7 separate regions of the Homo sapiens genome follow, and all the other regions are linked to region 3. The links are contacts of gene promoters, found by promoter capture Hi-C in blood cells and fetal thymus (Javierre and others, 2016). All regions are on one chromosome and are shown on one strand. Each heading gives the region's core, a stretch centred on a gene start or on the middle of the fragment in contact. The rest is flanking DNA. Distances are from core to core; before and after follow the strand shown. Region 1 overlaps VDR (vitamin D receptor). Region 2 has its middle 16 kb from the start of OR5BS1. Region 3 holds the start of CCDC184 (coiled-coil domain containing 184). Region 4 overlaps HDAC7 (histone deacetylase 7). Region 5 overlaps VDR (vitamin D receptor). Region 6 holds the start of C12orf54 (chromosome 12 open reading frame 54). Region 7 overlaps VDR (vitamin D receptor).

Evidence for each region. The method cuts DNA at HindIII sites, captures the fragments that hold promoters and counts their contacts. A CHiCAGO score of 5 or more calls a contact.
Region 1: a contact is called between a fragment that was not itself captured here and the fragment with the promoter of CCDC184 in region 3, in 1 of 17 cell types (erythroblasts). The highest score is 6.4, in erythroblasts.
Region 2: a contact is called between a fragment that was not itself captured here and the fragment with the promoter of CCDC184 in region 3, in 2 of 17 cell types (M1 macrophages and megakaryocytes). The highest score is 5.9, in M1 macrophages.
Region 4: a fragment that was not itself captured here is called in contact with the fragment with the promoter of CCDC184 in region 3 in 1 of 17 cell types (fetal thymus); the score reaches 6.9 in fetal thymus.
Region 5: a fragment that was not itself captured here is called in contact with the fragment with the promoter of CCDC184 in region 3 in 1 of 17 cell types (erythroblasts); the score reaches 6.5 in erythroblasts.
Region 6: a contact is called between the fragment with the promoter of C12orf54 here and the fragment with the promoter of CCDC184 in region 3, in 4 of 17 cell types (megakaryocytes, M1 macrophages, neutrophils and 1 more). The highest score is 6.4, in megakaryocytes.
Region 7: a fragment that was not itself captured here is called in contact with the fragment with the promoter of CCDC184 in region 3 in 6 of 17 cell types (erythroblasts, fetal thymus, naive B cells and 3 more); the score reaches 8.8 in erythroblasts.

What each region holds. Positions count from the first base shown.
Region 1 is chr12:47,885,489-47,888,188 of GRCh38, reverse strand. The region is part of intron 1 of VDR (vitamin D receptor); the gene reads left to right. Among named protein-coding and RNA genes, the nearest start is that of VDR, 18 kb to the left of the region's middle. The HindIII fragment of the contact is 2,009 bases long and covers 302-2,310 here.
Region 2 is chr12:48,542,316-48,545,015 of GRCh38, reverse strand. No RefSeq gene overlaps it. Among named protein-coding and RNA genes, the nearest start is that of OR5BS1, 16 kb to the left of the region's middle. RefSeq lists a silencer at 2,482-2,591. The HindIII fragment of the contact is 5,711 bases long and covers 1-2,700 here.
Region 3 is chr12:48,182,212-48,184,911 of GRCh38, reverse strand. It overlaps CCDC184 (coiled-coil domain containing 184), which reads right to left and starts at 1,268. Exons shown (of 1, transcript NM_001013635.4): 1 at 1-1,268. The coding sequence starts at 789. The coding sequence ends at 205. The HindIII fragment of the contact is 3,853 bases long and covers 1-2,700 here.
Region 4 is chr12:47,806,563-47,809,262 of GRCh38, reverse strand. The region is part of intron 1 of HDAC7 (histone deacetylase 7); the gene reads left to right. Among named protein-coding and RNA genes, the nearest start is that of HDAC7, 12 kb to the left of the region's middle. RefSeq lists an enhancer at 262-331. The HindIII fragment of the contact is 4,820 bases long and covers 1-2,700 here.
Region 5 is chr12:47,860,056-47,862,755 of GRCh38, reverse strand. All of the region lies in intron 4 of VDR (vitamin D receptor), which reads left to right. Among named protein-coding and RNA genes, the nearest start is that of LINC02354, 32 kb to the right of the region's middle. The HindIII fragment of the contact is 480 bases long and covers 1,022-1,501 here.
Region 6 is chr12:48,481,202-48,483,901 of GRCh38, reverse strand. C12orf54 (chromosome 12 open reading frame 54) reads right to left here and starts at 1,404. Exons shown (of 9, transcript NM_152319.4): 1 at 1,326-1,404; 2 at 541-662. The coding sequence starts at 605. The HindIII fragment of the contact is 2,624 bases long and covers 201-2,700 here.
Region 7 is chr12:47,839,753-47,842,452 of GRCh38, reverse strand. It overlaps VDR (vitamin D receptor), which reads left to right. Exons shown (of 10, transcript NM_000376.3): 10 at 1-916. It overlaps LINC02354 (long intergenic non-protein coding RNA 2354), which reads right to left. Exons shown (of 3, transcript XR_007063292.1): 3 at 2,345-2,700. Among named protein-coding and RNA genes, the nearest start is that of LINC02354, 12 kb to the right of the region's middle. The HindIII fragment of the contact is 1,088 bases long and covers 829-1,916 here.

The sequences.
Region 1 (2,700 bases), core at 57-2,556, 300 kb after region 3:
AGCCTTATGAGATCTGATGGGTTTAGCAGGGGTTTCCACTTTTGCTTCTTCCGTATTTTTCCGTTGCCACTGCCATGTAAGAAGTACCTTTCACCTTCCGCCATGATACTGAGGCCTGCCCAGCCATGTGGAATTGTAATTCCAGTTAAACCTCTTTCTCTTCCCAGTCTCAGGTATGTCTTTATCAGCATCGTGAAAACAGACTAATACACCCTGATACTGCAGGGGGTGTCAGTCCATGGCTTTTAGCAGGTTCTCAAAGGTGATGCATAGTCCCAAAAGGGTTAATGAAGAACAAGCTTCAGGGGTAAACTCCTTCCTACAACTACTGTGTCATCAGCCACTGAATTTCCCATCGTTCAGTCAGTCATAACTGGTGAGCCTCTTAAATGTTCTTAGAGGTTCTTAGAGCTGCGTTGCTGGGGCCCAGCCTCCTCTGGAAAGAGCCAAGTGGCAGACAGAGGAGGTGGCAGCCCTGCTGGGAGCACACCCAGCACTCACACTGCTCCATGGGCCCTTTCCATAGAACAGACACTGTTCTCTCCAGGTGCAGGCCACAAAGGTGGACGCTGTCTGTGCTACCACCTTACTCACTCTTCTTGTGGGGATCATGATCAAACCTGGGAATTTGATGGAGTCTAAATCAAAATTAAGTGTAACCCAGGCTATCTTCTGCTGCTTCTCCCCTGCAACTTCACTCACAACATAAGCATTATAGAGTGTTCTATTTTTATAATTTTCTGACTGATGGAAGTGAAGTGTCTTAGGGCTTAGTGTCTTAGAAAAGTCTAAGAGTCTTAGAAAAAGGGATCCTTTTCCTTTTTAATTTTTCTTTTCTTCTCCTTTGTTTTTTTTTTTTTTTTTTTGAGACGGAGTTTTACTCTTGTCGCCCAGGCTGGAGTACAACGGTGCGATCTCTGCTCACTGCAACCTCTGCCTCCCTGGTTCAAGAGATTCTCCCGCCTCAGCCTCCTGAGTAGCTGGGATTACAGGCACCCGCCACCAAAGCCGGCTAATTTTTGTATTTTTTCTTTTTTTTAGTAGAGACAGGGTTTCGCCATGTTAGCCAGGCTAGTCTCGAACTCCTGACCTCAAGTGATCCACCCACTTTGGCCTCCCGAAGTGCTGGGATTACAGGCATGAGCCACCGCGCCCGGCCAGGGCTCCTTTTTCTAATGTGCATATGGTACCATATGGTGGCCCCCTAAGCCCTCCTCTAGAGCTCCTGTGCGAATGGCCTAGTAGCTTTGTCTAACATGGCTACAAAGAGCTATCTAGGAGGAGCCATTGAAAGCTATGGGGTGCTGTTCCATCTGTGCATGATACAGAGCTTTCTAAGCATAGAGCCATCCAAAGAGAGTGGATTGCCGTGGGAGGTGGTTCTCCACTAGGAAAATTATTCAAGCATGGGCTAGAAAACTGTTTGGCTAGAATATCATAGAAGAAATTTAAGATGATTGGACTAGGTGGTGCTGTTGCCTTCCAATCTTGAGATTTTCAGAGCTGAATGTTATCTCTTGGGTTTTACTGTGGACATTGTGGTCTGTAGAAAATAATTTCCAATCGTTCTTACACATATTTAAAAGATGTGTGTATGAAGGAGCTGGGGAGACAGTCGGGGCAGGAAGTAGTTTGGATATGTTCTATTTATACAGTAAACCCTCTCCACTCCCCATTATTATCACTCTGTTCTCTGTCAGCTTCTTCTGGGAGGTACTGAGACTGTTCTGGACAAAGAAAATGGATACATGGTGGGGATGGTGGAGAAGAAAGAGAGGGTATCACCTTAGCTGGCCATGATATTATTATGCCTGAGTTATGCACCAGAATAAAGAGAAGACAAAAAGTTAGGTAGGTCATGCAGTGCTTAGCACTCGATGGGGCAGAGTTTAATGGATGATGAAACGAAAAATAGCAAGACAAGGGTGTGTACGCACAAGTACATGTGCGGTTGTGGCTGGCGGACACACAGGCATATCTTCTCCTGGAAAAGCCCAACACTTGGTTGACTCTGTGTGTGGCAATTTTAGGAAGAAGAAGAATTGTCTCCCACTCTGTGGGGAAATAGCTTAGCTTTCCATTTCTTTCTAGAAGGAGTAGGAACTTTGGAACAATGTCAACAATTAGAAAGCCCAGTTTAGATCACTCCAGTCCCAACCTGGCAGAGAGAGGACCCCTCTCCTGGGGTCGATTAGGGGCCACATCTTTTGTGCCCTTCCTGCTCATTGGCATCTGAGGATGAGTGAGTCTCACTCACTGAGGCATGAATGTTGTGGTTCATCTGGCTAATGAGGGATCAGGGAGAAAGCTTCATCTCATTTAAGGTCTTCTTTCCTGGCGTGGCTCACACCTGTAACCCCAGCTACTTGAGAAGCTGAGGTGGAAGATTGCTTGAGCCCAGGAATTAGAGGCTGCAGTGAGCTGTGATTGTGCAACTGCACTCTAGCCTGGGTAACAGAGGAGACCTTGTCTCTTAAAAAGAAAAAAAAATAGTGCTTCTCATGATGGGAATTCCAGTCTTGGAGTTGCATGCTCTCAGAGCTAGAAAAGACATTAGCGGTCAGACTTCTTGTCCACTCCATGGTCCTTCTCAGAGTCACAGCTTTACCACCCTTAGGAGGGTCCAGTCAATGTGGAGTTAAACTGAGCCATGAGGGACTTTGATTTTTGTCCTCCCAGGGCTCTGCCCAGGACACCTGG
Region 2 (2,700 bases), core at 110-2,609, 360 kb before region 3:
ATACAAAAAATTAGCTGGGCATGGTGGTGGGTGCCTGTAATCCCAGCTACTCAGGAGGCTGAGGCAGGAGAATCACTTGAACCCAGGAGATGGAGGTTGCAGTGAGCCAAGATCATGCCATTGCACTCCAGCCTGGGCAACAAGAGTGAAACTTCATCTCAAAAACATTATATATATATATGTATTTTTTTCCATGGTAGTTGTTTTGGTCCATGTGTATCTCCTTCAACATTTTTTAATGGGGTTGTTCTGATTATTCCTCTTGATGGTTGTCTTTCATTGCCTGTTTGTACTATTGTTTCGTTTGCTCATTGTGGCAAAAGACTGGCTATTTCAGTTCTTTAAGTGGTAACAGTCTCATGAGAGAAGGGAATCTCCGCCTGTAGTGTAGCACCAGATAAGTTGCCAGTCCCACTTCCAGGCACCCACCTCTGCACTCCAGTTTTATGCTTTCCCATCCTCAAGACAGGGAAAACTTCCTCTGTTTTAGTTCTTCCTTAGATGCTTGGGAGTCAGATAGAGAGGTGCATTTACATGGGGCAATACCAACCTTTCAGCTGTATATCCATCACCCGAGTGCTAATGTTCCTGGAACATCCATGTTCAGCCCCCGGATAGAAAGGGTCACACACGCTGCAGCAGCTGCTGCTGCTGCTGCAGACGGGACTTCCATGGGACCTGGGGCTTTACCACTCCCACCTTCCGATTGCTGTAGCTGCAGCTTAGCTCAGGAAAGCCTTGGACTTGGGATTAGAGAGTATGGTGGGACATGTTCATGTTAGATATAGATAATATTAGATATATTAATGGTCAGTCATGCTGCATCTTCAGTTGATTTTGCATATCATTAGCTTATTCCATTAAATACTAATTATATTATTTAATAGAAAAATCTATTATTTTCACTTCGAAGTTTTATGAGACTTTATTCAAGTCCTTGAGTACTTATGATTTATTCTCCCTCCAGAAAAAATTTCCTCAAACCCAGATATCTTCTAATGTCCGCCTTTCTCAAAATCCCCAGCAAGCTCTTTGGTTATGGGCTTAGGGCAAAATAACCCTAGCTCATTTAGACTTCATTGCAGTCTGAATGACCAACCTACAATTTCTCCCCTTGGCTCATGAGAAACCCTCCCTGCTAACCTTCTGGGCCTCCTTGCTGACCCCACACTTGCTATTCAGCTCCCAATAAACTGCAGACTTCCTGAGGGTAAGAGGTTTTTTTGTACTAATGATGACAGTTAGACAGGACTCCATTGATAAAGAAGACTCCAGGGACCCAAAATGACGTTGCTTACAAATCTATGATTTGCAGGAAAAATGATACAAATGTAGCAACAGCATTAAAGTAAGGATATGCACCACAGCCAAAAGCTGCCTCCCATCAAGGAGTCCTGGAGACAGCCCTGGAGGGAGCTCCAATATTCTTCCCCCTACAGGGTCATACTAGCATGTGCTCACTCTCTTGATTAGAAACCACCAATGTGTATGTGAAACACATCAGAACCAGGAGCTCAGACAATCTGGGTATGTATGACACGTCCTTCCCTTGATCCAGTCTAGTGAACTAGCAGCTGCCCCATGAACTGTCCCTGCAAAGGTAGCGGACAACTGAAGATCCAGTGTAAGCCCAAATATTCCCTTAGGAGCTGGCAAACATTCTTCCCTACTCAGCAGTGTTCAAGGACAGGAACACTGCACCTTGATCTAAAACCCTCAGGAGCCATTTCAACAAGGGCTCAAAGGGAAGCTGCTTTTAACACTACAAAATGTCTCAATGATTTCACTTAACAACCCCTTACTTTCATGTTTCCTTTTGCCGTCCTTCCATTATCAGTCAGCTTGCCCCATTTGAAATGTCTTTTTTTTTTTTTTTTTTTTTTTTGAGACAGAGTCTTGCTCTCTCACCAGGCTGGAGTGCAGTGGCATGATCTTGGCTCACTGCAACCTCCACCTCCAGGTTCAGGTGAGTCTCCTGCCTCAGCCTCCTGAGTAGCTGGGACTACAGGCACGAGCCACCACGCCCAGCTAATTTTTTTTTTTTTTGTATTTTAGTAGAGATGGGGTTTCACCATATTGGCCAGGTTGGTCTCGATCTCATGACCTCGTGATCTGCTCCCCTTGGCCTCCCAAAGTGCTAGTATTACAGGTGTGAGCCACCATGCCCGGCCGATAACAAATCTTTATTAGCAAAGAACACAGAATAAACAACTTTACAACCAAAAAGTAATTTTTGCCATAAAAAGGTGGCATATATATATATATATAATGGCTGAGGAATAACCAAAACTTGCCATGTAAGGCCAGTAAGAAAATTCCAACAATTAACAAGAATGCAATTTTCAATGGCCCATTAATTACAGAAAAATTAAACAACTACATCAAAATTAAAATTGCCTACATATTAGAAATACATTTCAACTTAACTAAATATCTTCTTAGTAGTAATTAGTCTCATAGTTACAACCCGGTGTCAGGTTATGGTTGCCCAGCTTCCTTTGGTTGGAGCGCCGTCTCCTGGCCAGAGAATGTGAAGCTCAGCCAAAGGAGATCTTTGGGCTTCCTTTTACCTTTGCTAATGCAGCAACCGTGGAACTGAATTTTAGTGGACCTGCCACTGGATTGAAATTTCCTGCCAATCCATTTTACTAGCTCCTGAGGTTTCAGTTTTATAATTTTCAGATCTCACTGGGAAGGTTT
Region 3 (2,700 bases), core at 19-2,518:
TTCGCTTAGTTGGGCAGAAAGAATTCTCGATGCTCCCAAAGTCCTTCACCCTACAAATCCTTCCTCGAGGGAGTCTCTCTCTGCCTGACCCACAAGAGCAGCTGTCCAAGTGAAGCATGCCGCACCGCGCCGTTCAGTCCCCCTCGCGTCATGCACTCGGAAACCCAAAGACAGCCCGGGAAGGTAGTGCCCCACGGAGTCCCCTCACAGGGAGGCCTCGCCCTCCAGTTGCAGCAGGGTAATGTCGGGCATGTCGAGGGGCTCCACAAGTGGCCCGTCCCCCCCAAGGAGACCAGCACAGGGGCTTTCGGGGCGCTCACAGTGACTGGAGGGTGTGGCGGGGCTGGGCATCTCCTTCTCTTCTTCCTCTTCCTCCTCGTCCTCGGGATCGCGACCCAGCAAGCCGCTGTCCCCGATCCCAGGCGAAGGAGTCTCCGGCTCTTGGGGGTCGCTCTGGAAGCTCCCCTTGCCGCCGACCACGCCCAAGCCGCCCTGGCGGGGCGCAGTGGTCATAATCTGGCACATGGAGACGATGGCTCGCTGGTTGGCGCACACGTCGTCCGAGAGCACCTGGATGTGCGAGGCCTGCTCGTCCAGGGCCCCCCTCATGGCCCTCACGTCCTCAAACAGGGCTTGCAGCTGGGCTTTCAGGTGCTCCATCAGTTCCTTCATGCCGCCGTTGTACTCCCCGGAGATCACGTCCCCCACTGCCGGCACGGTGGACACCTCCAGGGGCGCCGGCATGTCGCCGCCGTCCTTGGTCATGATCTCCAGCAGACCGTCCTCCATTGAGTGGCAGAAGCGGGTGGCGGAGGCTCTGGGTCGCGTCCAGCCCGGCCTCCGGGGTGGGGGAGGGGGTGGAGGGGGAGAGGTCCCGGGAGGGGCTAGCGGGAGCCGAGGGAAGCGGAGGCTCCCGAGACTGGCGGGGAGCCGACGTGAGAGACGAGTCCTGGGCAGAGGGCGCAGGCAGGATCGCGGGAGGCCGAGAAGAGGCTGCGGGACGAGGACCCGGCGAGGGTCCCAGAGCCGGCGTCTCTTGGGATCGCCCCGGGACGAAAGTGCCCTGCCCTGCCTCGCCTCCCGGATCGCGCCCGTGTCAGCGCCGCCCTCTGGGCGCCACAAGCAGAGAGCGCCTGCCGGTTCCGTGGGTCACAGACGCGCTCGCGGAGGGGTCCGCGTCCAGGCTGAGGCCAGCGGCGCGTCGGACTCGGGACTCCCCCAGGCCATTACCGGGCAGCGCCCGCGAGTGTGGCAGCAGCAGCTGGGGTGGGTCTCCCGGGGGTGTCGCGGATGCTCCTCTGTTTCCAAGGCGACGCACGGCACGTAAATGACGTGTGTCTCCATGGTAACCAGGAAGTGGCGAAGAAAAAGGGAGGATGGCTGGAAGCTGCAGTGGGGCTCTGGAGTCTGGACTAGCGGGGTGGGGGGAGGAGAGGGGACGCTACAGTGGCTTCGGCCAAGGCTGGAAAGAGCGTGTGGTCGCAATGTTTAATAGGGAAGTATGAGAGAGCCGTCTGCTGCAGAAACCTCCAAGTCCGGGAGAGATCGTCCCTCCCCTAGCCGGGGTATGAGACCCAGCGAGACTGCCCTGGAAAGATTTTTCCAGCCCGCATTCCTTTCTCAGAGGATGGCGCTAAAGTCGAGTCCTGCCTCCCTGTCCTCCAGCGATGCGCAGGAAAGCGGAGAGGGTAGAGAGGCTGTTGCTAATGATCCCAGAGTTGAGCTGGGGCACGGTGGCGCTCTGGAGCCGGACCCACCGGGCCTGACGGTGCAGAGGCAGGAGGAGGGCGCTACGGAGGTTTCTGCAGTAAATCAGCCCTCTAGCTATAGAAATCACCGGAGCGGGGGAAGGATGGGACTCCCTCCTTTATGAGACCCTACCGCTCCTACGCAGGTCTCTGGGAGTTTGTCCCAGATGGGGAGGCCAAGTGCTTAAGTTTTGAGAATGAAAGCTCCATAAGGGGAGAGATTTTTGTCTCCCCTGCACCCTCCATCACGGAATCCCCAGCTCCTAAAATAGTGCCTGGCACCTAGTATGTAGATGCTTAATATAGTTATTGAATGAATAACAAAAACCACCAAGTCCCACGCTCTCATCCAGAACTCCCCAAGCCAAACGTAGTGGGTTTTAGGAGACCTGAATTCAGTTTCGTTTCTGCCACTTATTCATTCAGCGACCTTGGCCACATCATTTTCCTCATCTGTTAGGGAATTGGACTGGATAATCTATAATACTATTTCTAATTCTGAATAACAGTCTGCATCATCTCACAGGTGAAAAGGTAAACTGTTGACCGTTGTGTGGAGGGTATGGATGGGGGGACTGTGTGTTAGAGTAATTCCCGCTCTCTCTTTCAGTGCCCAAGTTCAGACATACACTGAGTATCCCCAACCTTTGTGACAAGCCCTTTCCCTATTTAAGGGGTGGAGCAGGAAGGGTGGAGGAAGAAGAAAAATTGTCTTTAATATACGTAGATGATTGCAGATTGAGAAGGAATCAGCACCTGGGCAGAGCACAATAATTAATAATGACCCTAGGAAATTAGGGAAGCCAAGTGATCGGAAGCCAAAAATGAAGTTCATAAGAATAAATCTGGGAAAGAGAAACAAACTATATCACTTCAAGATAGAGAAGAACTACGTAAAGGTGAGTGTTTTGTAGACTGGCGGTTCAGTGACAGCAAATGTGTTACCTTTGGG
Region 4 (2,700 bases), core at 64-2,563, 380 kb after region 3:
TGAGGAGGGCCCAGGAGCTGGGGTGACAAGGAGAGCAAGGGAATGAGTGTGACACCTCAGAGGGGAGAAGGAGCCGCCCCTAGAGGCAGCCTGGGGCGGTGACTGTGCTTCCTGTTGGGGCAAACACTGGCCCTTGAGAAAGACTGGCTCACACTGGCTGCTAAAGGAGCAACTGGTCTAAGTGGGGCACCAGAGGGGTAAAGGCGAAGGGGAGAGATGAAGGCAGAAACTGGCCGACTTATCCCCATGTTACAGATAGGGCCTCAAATCTTGCCTGCTCAGGATGTTTTGCTTATGATAGGAAAGATGGTAGTTAGACATCATGGTGAACTTCCTATCTCAGGGACTGGAGATACTGGAGCAGAGGAGTGAGGATGAATGTGGAACTTATGTCTTTGAGGGCTTTTTGGAACTGAGAAATCTTAGGGTAGTGTGGACTAGGGGAGCCCACTGGCTCAGGAATTCCCTAAGTGGGCAGAGCAGTGCAGGGGCAGGCCAGGCTATAAGCTGAAGGCCATGGGTAATAGGAAGTAGATGCAGGCCCTCCAGGCCTGCCACCGCAGGAAGTAGCTATGCCCTCCCCTTCACAATGGACTTGCAGGGAAGGCTGAGTGGTGGCCCGAGAGGTCCCGGGAGTTGGACAGGGCTGGGAGGACCCCTGTTTTTCTCTGTCAGAGGACAGCAAGGGTCTCCAGAGAGTGCCAGACCCAGAAACCGACAGCCATACGCAACTCAGAATGGCCCAGCTCCCCGGCCTCAGGTTCTGCCAGGTCTTCATCCTTGAGGAGAGGCCACAGGGTGGAGCTGGGGATCTGGGGTGGGGGACAAAGAACCAGGGAGGATGCTTTCCCACCCCCAGGGAGCTCAAGCCGCTGCTGCCATGGTTACATCTGCTTCCTGTTTGATTCATCTCAAACAGCAGAAGTGGAGGTGGGGTGGGGGGGCGACACTGGCTCCCAGCTCAGGCCACTGCTGCGTGGGGCTGTTTACAACAGCCGCATGTGGGATTCCCAGAAAGAGACTCCAAACCGGACATCCTGCGGCTGCAAAATACCCAGGTGTCAAGAGCTAAAAATAGCTGCCTCAGGGCCCCAGCTGCCCTGAGGTGGCGGAGAAAGAGGCATGCTCACTGTTGCCACCCTTACATCCAGCCTCCTGTTTGGTGTGCAGGAGCTTCTCTGTCCTCTTGCCTCGGACTGATGGAGGCCTTCGTCTGGGTAGGCAGACATCCCGGCTGGCTCACCTGGCAGCTGAGCCTCTGCCCTGATGGGCAGCTGGCTCCTCTGCCTATACAGAGAAATGGTGCAGCTTGCTTTGGGACGCTAATGAGAGAGTCCTAGAGGGACTTGGGAGCTTCTAGAGAAGGGATATGGCAGGGCACTGAGAGCAGGGGAGTTGGAGCTGAGGGTCCTCTAAGACCCCAACCCATTGCCAGCCCCCTGTTTCCAGCACACAGTCCCAAATCATTGCTTGGTTTCTACAAAGTCAACAGTTGCTCCAAATGATTCTTTGAGATTGTCTTCATGGGCACCCAAAGATGACATAGCTTCTGCCCTCTCACCTGCGCAGGGCTGGGGATTGCTGCTGGCACGGGTCTCTGTGGGGCTGTGTGATTTTTTTTTTCCATCTTTCTGCATGCCCATCTAGGTCCTGCATGTGTCCTTTGCTGGCTGGCCTGTGGCGAATGGGAATGCTGGGGAGGAGGGGTGGAGTGTATTGGTTGAGAGCGTGGATTCTGAAGCCCAATTGCCTGGGCTCAAGTCCCAGCTCAACCTCTGCCACTTGTCTGTGACCTCAGACAAGTTATCTAATACTGCTGGGCCTCAGCGTACTCATTTATCTAATGGGGATAAAACAGTAAATACCTCATAGGTTTGTCATGTGGACTAGATAAGTTAGCAAATGTAGGGTACTTAGAACAACTCCTGGCACATAATAAGGTGTTCGCTTACAAAAGTTCAGGTGGAAGAGAAAGGGAAGAGAGCATAGTTGGGAGAGGCTGGGGATAAGAGATAGGGCAGGGGGCTGGGCACGGTGGCTCACGCCTGTAATCCTAACACTTTGGGAAGCCGAGGCAGGCAAATCACCTGAGGACAGGGGTTCGAGACCAGCCTGGCCAACATGGCAAAACACCGTCTCTACTAAAAATACAAAAATTAGCTGGGCTTGGTGGCTTATGCCTGTAGTCCCAGCTACTTGGGAGGCTGAGGGAGGAGAATCACTTGAATCCAGGAGGCAGAGTTTGCAGTTAGCTGAGATTGTGCCACTGCACTCCAGCCTGGGTGACAGAGCGAGACTCCATCTCAAAAAAAAAAAAGAGAGAGAGAGAGAGATGGGGCAGGGGCATGCATTCAGGAGAAAATGGTCTGTGGTAGAGGAGGGAGGAGAGTTGGGAGCAGACACTGAAACGCTAATGCCAGGAAGGAGGCTGCAGACAAGTACAGGAGGCAAACTAATACTCGCTACCACAAGGGAGCACCCACCATGTGCTGGGTGCATCACAGACAGCATTGCTAATCTCAGGTGACCTCTTTGAAGTAGGTATTCTTTTTGTTTGTTTTTGTTTTTGTTTTTGAGACGGAGTCTTGCTCTGTCGCCCAGGCTGGAGTGCAGTGGTGCAATCTCAGCTCACTGCAGCCTCCGCCTCCTGGGTTCAAGCGATTCTTGTGCCTCAGCCTCCCAAGTAGCTGGACTACATGC
Region 5 (2,700 bases), core at 12-2,511, 320 kb after region 3:
CTTATCTGGGCTGGGTTTTGTCCCCAAGGCATAGCATCCCAGAGACAATTGAGTGTCTCAATATTTGTAAAACCACAGGAAGAAAGCTAAAAGCCCAGGCTCCTGCTGTCCGAGCAAGGAGGTGGGCCTTCCATAGAAGAGGCACAGGAAGGGAAAGGATGAGGACAGAAACCCTGTGTATTGACCAACTACTGTGTGTCAGATAGCACATCAAGCACATGCATTTTCTTCTGAAATTCTCACAACACTCCCTAAATACGTAAATACTTTTATTTTTTCAATAGCTGAGGAAGCTCAGAGGAATTAAAATATCATGGCTCTCAGCTAATAAGATGATGGTATCAGCATTCATTCTAATCTAGGTCTTTCTGCTTCCAAAGGGCAGGCTTGTGGGCCACACCCGAGGCAGCCTCTCGTGGCCCCAGTGGGTCGGAGCTCACTCCATTGTGCATTTCCAGGCACTTTCACATGCTCTAAGAGATGGATTGAAGAGAGCTTGGTCCCACCAAAGACTCATTTTCTCTCTTTTCCATTCTTAGTTGACTTTATACCCTGGGAACCCAAGAAATTTTATAACTGAGTTCTTGCTTTTTGCTTATACTATTACCTGTCCTGCACAGAACCACACATTGTGGTAACTTGTTTGATGTTTTTACAGATGTATGTCTTTTCTCCCTGGTGTTAGTAAAGTACCTGGCACATAGTAGGTGCTCAATAAATGTGTGGAATCAATGAATATTAGCTCCTCATTATGCTTCTTTCTCTCTGTATATCTTCCACAGGTCTATAGATCAGTAAGATTCTCCCAAACCTGATCATGTCTGTGCCGTTCATTTGGAAACATTTTATGTCCTCTTCCTGTGGTTGTTCTTAGCCCATCCTTGGCATCTTGAAATGTTTTCAAATTGTTTATGTTGCAGATCTTGGCTTCGTTAAGGAGAGAACATGTCTTGCATGGGAATAACTTGCGCAAAATTATTTCACACTCAGCAAGGAGCTTAAAATGAAGTCAAAAAAAGCTTCTGAGCAGCCATGTAGGTTTTACAAAGTCCACATGCCAAAACTCATGCACTTTAGACGCCTGATCACCAGACAGCCCAACACTCTTTCAGAACCTGTTTACTCTTATTCTAGGTCAATGGCTTCATATATCATATAGTGTCTTCCTATATGATAGTAATGACATCTTAGGTTCAATCCATTGAAAAAATGATAAGAAATTTCCCATGAAATTAACAAGATCTTTAAACAAATTATTTCGTAAATCACAGTGCATTTGCATATGTGAAAGACTTTAGACTTATTCAGTCCTCAAGCAATGTTGCCTTGCAGAAGGCTCATGGATTGGGCCTGTGTGAAACTGGTAGATCTCAGCATTTCTTCCTCTGTTACCTCCATAGAAGATGGAGGTTGCTATTTGATGCAAGTGACTGGGAGGAATCATGTTATAGGGTTAAACTTGAACTTTCTTTGTCTCTTTAAAGTGGGTAATTTACAAGCTTTGTGACTTAATTTTATTTTCACACTCTTCAGATGGATTGGAACACAATGCCTGTCAAAACTCCATGGCTGAAAGCCAAAGTCCGCTTATAACCAGATGTAATCAGACACAGTAGAGGCTAGTGGTTATGACCTTCCACTCCAGAACCAGACTGCCCAGGTCTAAATGCTGGTTTCACCACTGTTAGCTGTGTGACTTTGAGAAAGGTAGAAAGCCTCTCTGGGCCTCAGCTCCCTCATCTGCTAAATGGGAATAACAACAGCACCTGCCTTAAAGGGTTGTCATGAGGGCTAAATATATGAGTTAATATACAAAAGGCTCTCAGAATAGTGCCTTATAGATAGAAAAACTCTTTATGTGCCATCCAGCATTACGAATATTTTCTTTTTATTACATCAAACTTGATCACCAGAACTTCTAGCTCCCAAGAGATCAGAAGTAAGTCTTAAGGGGGAGAAAGGCACACATCCAGAGGCAGACACCAATAAGAAGACAACGCATAGTTTAACAGGGAGGTGGACACTGGAAGCAAGAAAAGCAGCCCAAGAACTCCAAAGCCCAGCACGCCAAGCCATGCAATGCGGGGCAGACAGCCTCTGACAACTCTGAGGCTGTAACCTTGTCCTGCAATGTTCAGTAATTATTCAGAATGATACCTCTGAATCATCAGGGAAAGGTTATATGACGTTAAAAGTGTTCCGTTACAAGGTTTTCTGTCTTGAAAATCTTTCCATAACAATTGTTTCAATAAAAGAGGTCAGCTTTCTCAGCTCTCTGGTGTGCCAGGTGCCATTCACTACATTGCAGGAGACAAGCAGCACTAGAGTACTCACTAGCCTTTCCTGAACCAGGAAAATGATTTGCACACAGTTGGTGTAATCTGTGTGGATGCATTTGATATTTGGTGTCAGACTATTGAGCAGACACCACGGCCAGGTAGCCCCTCCGGTCTAGCCTTTATGGGGGAAATATAAGAATTGTAAGACAAAGGCCGGGCATGGTAGCTCACGCCTGTAATCCCAGCACTTTGGGAGGCCAAGGCGGGCAGATCACCTGAGGTCAGGAGTTTGAGACCAGCCTGGCCAACATGGTGAAACCCCATCTCTACTAAAAATACAAAAAAATTGGCCAGGCATGGTGGCATGTGCCTATAAGCCCAGGTACTCTGTAGCCTGAGGCAGGAGAATCGCTTAGAACCC
Region 6 (2,700 bases), core at 155-2,654, 300 kb before region 3:
ACAAACTCTTATCTCAAAACATCTGCTGCAAGTTCAAAGGCTCAAGCCAAGTTCTGATTCCTTATGAAGCTTTCCTGACCCATAAGTTCACAGTAAACCCTCCTTCTTTTCTGACTTCATGGATACCATCACCTGGGTCTCATATTTAGCCTCAAGCAGCAGATTCTAGCCCTCTTTTCCACTGTAGGCCAAGAGAAGCTTGATTTTAGATGGTTGACCTTGATTTACACTATAGAGGATATAAAGGACTTAGGCAAAGTCAATCCTGGAATAAATTAATGTCCCTAGTTTGTATACCCCGCCAACCCCTAGAGGAATTGCAATTGATGCCTGATTTCTAAATTAAAATGACAAAGATTTGCTATTATCTCTTTCATTAAGGAGATGGAGAAGAGGGAGGACACATGAAAGTCCCCATCTTATTCAGCCAGGAAGCAAGTGAAGCCAAATGAAGAGCCATAGAAGACAGGAGGCCCTGGTTCTTCTCCCATAGAGTATAGCAATCTAAGGATGTTTGAGGGTCATCATTAGCCCCATTACCTTCTCTGCTGCTTGGAGGTCATTTCTACCTTTTGTTCCTGATCCTGGCAGGGATGCTGTGCCATTTGTTCTCAGACAGAAACCAAGGACTCTGGAGCTGAAGATGGAGATAGCTCCAGGCCCTGGAGAGGCATAAATGAATATGCGGAGAAGGCAGGTACATGGTGAGAAGAAAAGCGCTTATTCAGTGGAGAACTACCAGCAGTTAATGGAGCATTTGTATTTTGAATGGGTGAGTGTGCATGTGCATGTGTGTGCTTGCATATATGTGCATGTATGTGTGCATATGCATGTACATATGCATAAGGAAAGATGAAGGTAAGAGGAGGGTAAGAGGAAGGAAGTATTTGCCCTGGGTAAAATCTTCCTATAGTCTTTGTCAGTAACAACAGAAATTGCAGTGAGGAAGTAGACGAAAAAAAAAAAGAGAGAATCTAAGTGAAAAATAAGTTGGCTGAGATTGGGGATGGGGGATTGGCCAAAGGGTCTTTGAGTTCAGGCAAGGACAGGAAATAGTGTAGAGTGAATGCAAGATTGTCAAATACCCCACCCCCTCCCACCTCAGTCAGAATTTTCATGGTTAACTAAGGATAGAGGAGTTTCAGGATGGAGGGCCATCAGCTCCAGCCTTAAAGTGCTTTGTAGAGAAGAAGGGCTCATAGGCAGTGGCCCAGACAGGAGACAAATCCTCCTTTGAGAAGTTTCCCTCCCACTTTTCCCACTCCCACCCTTCTTGGCCTCCAAGCCCCAGTCAAGAACGAGGTCAATTATGCCTAGAAACTTACCCTGCTTGGTTCCCCAAATTACACTTTGCCCCACTCCTTCACCCCTAGACTTTTTCCTATTTGAGCCCCATCTCACAACAGCCTCCTGTTCCCATATCAACCTTGCCATTTTCAATACTTTGTGACTTCAGCTGTGACCTCATAGACGGACAACTTGCTTTCCCTCCCAGCCACACACTAGGCTCCATTCAATCCAAACGATAATGGTAAAATGGAGGGATAATGTTGTGGGATTTTAATTTTAATTTCTGGGAATTTTTGCTTCTTCATTGCCTTCTACCCATTGCATTGGAAATCCATTGATTCTTAGAGATGAAAGGAATGAGGCCAGAAGAATCCAGTTTTTACTTTGAATTTCAAAATCAGGTCTGAGAAATCTGGCTTTCAATTTCAAGAGCTAGGTCCTTCAGAGAGAAATGGTTTTGTTGTGAATTCCCAAAGTCTTTGACCTAGAAAATCACCAAAGATTTGTGAATGATCATGGATTTAAAACCATTTAGATTTAGAAGGGATGAAAACAGTTTTTCTGAAGAAAGTATAGGGTTTTAATACGGAGGCAGGAAGTGAAAATTAGGGAAGAGGCATTAGGTGTAGGTGTGCAACTCTGGGACCTGCTTCCTTTTGGTGATGGTGCATATAAAATATCCCAATATGTCTAGAAATCTAAGAACAGAAGGAACCAAGGGCCAGCTTCTCCCTTGAAACTAGACCCCTGGAGGAGCAGCCTCAGAGAGAGCACTGTGCCTACATGGGGAGGTCGTGGTGAAGTGGGAATTGTGGTATAGCGTGTTTAGGCAGACAGGACCTGAGATAGTACCTTTCAGGTCCCATAGCCTGCCCAGGTGATGGTGGGAAAACTCCTCATGCAGAAATGCAGAGTGGAGAAGGAGAGGGCTAAAATCTAAAGAGGACTCACAAATCATGCAACCTGCGACAAAATGCCAGGGTATGTACAACAGATGGAGGTGTCAACATTGGCTCGGCGCTCCACCTGTCTTTAGCAGACTTTAAAGGAAAGGCATACTGTCCCATCCCTTGTTTTGATTTTAGAGCTCCAGGTGCTACTAGTGAGACCACCATGGACCCTCTCTGCACACCACCTTCTTACTATCATGAAGTGCTTCAAATTAGACTCTGATTAGAGGTTACTCTCTCCCACCCTCTAAGAGACCAGCAGGGCCATTTCCATCATAATCTACCTTTTTATTTACCTCAGTTTCCATAAGGAGTCTAAGCTCCTCCCTTTATCATCTCACATCACAGGGACTTTTACCCTTTCATGGCCAGATGTATCTCATAATCCAACTCAATTCCTACCTCTCTCAAACCACCCCAAGTCTTTTGCTATCCAAAAGTCATTTTTTTTAAAAAAAAA
Region 7 (2,700 bases), core at 123-2,622, 340 kb after region 3:
TTTGGAGTCATGGTCCGGTGTCCTTTTCACTACACCATGTTTGAGCTCAGACCCCCACTCTCATTCCCCAGGTGGCTGACCCAGTCCCTGGGGGAAGCCCTGGATTTCAGAAAGAGCAAGTCTGGATCTGGGACCCTTTCCTTCCTTCCCTGGCTTGTAACTCCACCAACCCATCAGAAGGAGAAGGAAGGAGACTCACCTCTGCCTCAATGTGAATCAGACCCTACCCCACCACGATGTGGCCCTGGCCTGCTGGGCTCTCCACCTCAGCCTTGGATAATGCTGTTGCCTCATCTATAACATGCATTTGTCTTTGTAATGTCACCACCTTCCCAGCTCTCCCTCTGGCCCTGCCTTCTTCGGGGAACTCCTGGAAATATCAGTTACTCAGCCCTGGGCCCCACCACCTAGGCCACTCCTCCAAAGGAAGTCTAGGAGCTGGGAGGAAAAGAAAAGAGGGGAAAATGAGTTTTTATGGGGCTGAACGGGGAGAAAAGGTCATCATCGATTCTACTTTAGAATGAGAGTGTGAAATAGACATTTGTAAATGTAAAACTTTTAAGGTATATCATTATAACTGAAGGAGAAGGTGCCCCAAAATGCAAGATTTTCCACAAGATTCCCAGAGACAGGAAAATCCTCTGGCTGGCTAACTGGAAGCATGTAGGAGAATCCAAGCGAGGTCAACAGAGAAGGCAGGAATGTGTGGCAGATTTAGTGAAAGCTAGAGATATGGCAGCGAAAGGATGTAAACAGTGCCTGCTGAATGATTTCCAAAGAGAAAAAAAGTTTGCCAGAAGTTTGTCAAGTCAACCAATGTAGAAAGCTTTGCTTATGGTAATAAAAATGGCTCATACTTATATAGCACTTACTTTGTTGCAAGTACTGCTGTAAATAAATGCTTTATGCAAACCAATTTGCCTTATCCTTATAAGGACCTTATGGGAGATGAATCATTATTACCCCCATTTGACAGAAAGGATAGCTTGAGCAATGCCACACTAGCAAGGGATGGGATTTGAACCTTCAGCAGCTAGGTTCAGAAGCCACAAATTAACTGCTACATTGTCCTGCTTCCTATTGAGTTGGGGGACCTGACAGACGACTGATGGTCTTGCTAGCTCTCTCCTAGAGAGGAGATAAAAGAGGTTCCCATTCCTAAAGCAGGCCCTGAGCCAGGAAAATTAGAGGTGCTGGACCAAACTGTGCTCTACTCCCAGGAAGTGTGCAGTCAATATATGACACCTACGTGAGACCCTCAAAAATGAAAACCAAACAGCTACTGGCAAAACTGTGTCTGCCATTAGAGATGGCGGCTGTGCCAGTGACCTGGAGGATTACAAATGACTGCTGTGCAGAAACAGGACTCCTAAGGGGCCCAACTTATGCCGATGCACTCCATTCTGCTTCCCAAGGAAGTGGGGTTTATGATGAAGGGTAGCATTGCTAGGCACAGTAAACAAGAACACAGCATTGTGATCTGAAAATAAGGAAATCATGCCAGCTAATGTATTGATTGAGGATAAGTTGGCCTGGGGATGTGATTCACTCTAATTTTTCAGAAACATCTGAAAATATTTCAAACCAAAGGCTAAAATGTGTTTCAGTGGGATGAGATGGACTTAGGGGAATTGGGGTTAGAACTTGAGGGTTATTTTGTGAAACATGAAGGGACTTAGAGAAAGGAAATCAACAGCTGCATAAATGGGCATGTCTCTGGCTGGAGAAATGTGGAGAATGGAGTTCTGATACACTGTTAGAAGGATCTTATGTAGCATTTTTATAGCTGACCTAGAAGAACACAAAATTTCCAAGGCTGTGTTATAATGCGCTTTTCCAGGTAAACCAAGAGGAATATACCCCAGGAAGGTTGCATAATTAGGATCAAGTGTTTTCAAGTTTTCATATTCCAAGCTTTGGTTCTATGCCTACACTGTTCAATCCAGTAGCCACTAGCTACATGTGAGTATTTAAATGAAATAAAGGTAAACATCTAGCTTGTCAACCGCACAAGCCACAGTTCCAGTATTTGATAACCTCAGGGCTACCGTAAGAGACAGTGCAAATACACAACATTTTCTTCCTTTTTTCTTTCTTCTTTCTTTCTTTTTTCTTTCTTTTTTCTTCTTTTTTTTTTTTGAGACAGAGTCTTGCTCTGTCACCCAGGCTGGAGTGCAGTGGCACAATCTCGGCTCACTGCAACCTCTGCCTCCCAGTTTCAAACCATTCTCCTGCCTCAGCCTCATGAGTAGCTGGGATTACAGGCACCTGACACCATGCCTGGCTAAGTTTTGTATTTTTAGTAGAGACAGGGTTTCACCATGTTGTCCAGGCTGGTCTTGAACTCCTGACCTCAAGTTATCTGCCCGCCTCAGCCTCCCAAAGTGCTGGGATTACAAGCGTGACATTTTCATCATCGCAGAATAGTCTATGGGGCAGCACTGGTCTACACAATGCATTCTTATCTGGTACTAATTGTGAATGACTCCATGAGGATGCTGGCGTCATGTGCTTCTGTTGATCTGTAGGGCAGAATGGCCACTAACTTGACATCATATGGAAGTGCTATAGGGAACATCCTCCCCTTACAATGGGCTATGCCACACCTGGGGTAGTTCGAATGAGTCTGCTTCTTAAAAGAGACATAAAGCAAAAACACTGCACAGACCATGGGGTTGATAGGCTCAAAGCATCATGTGG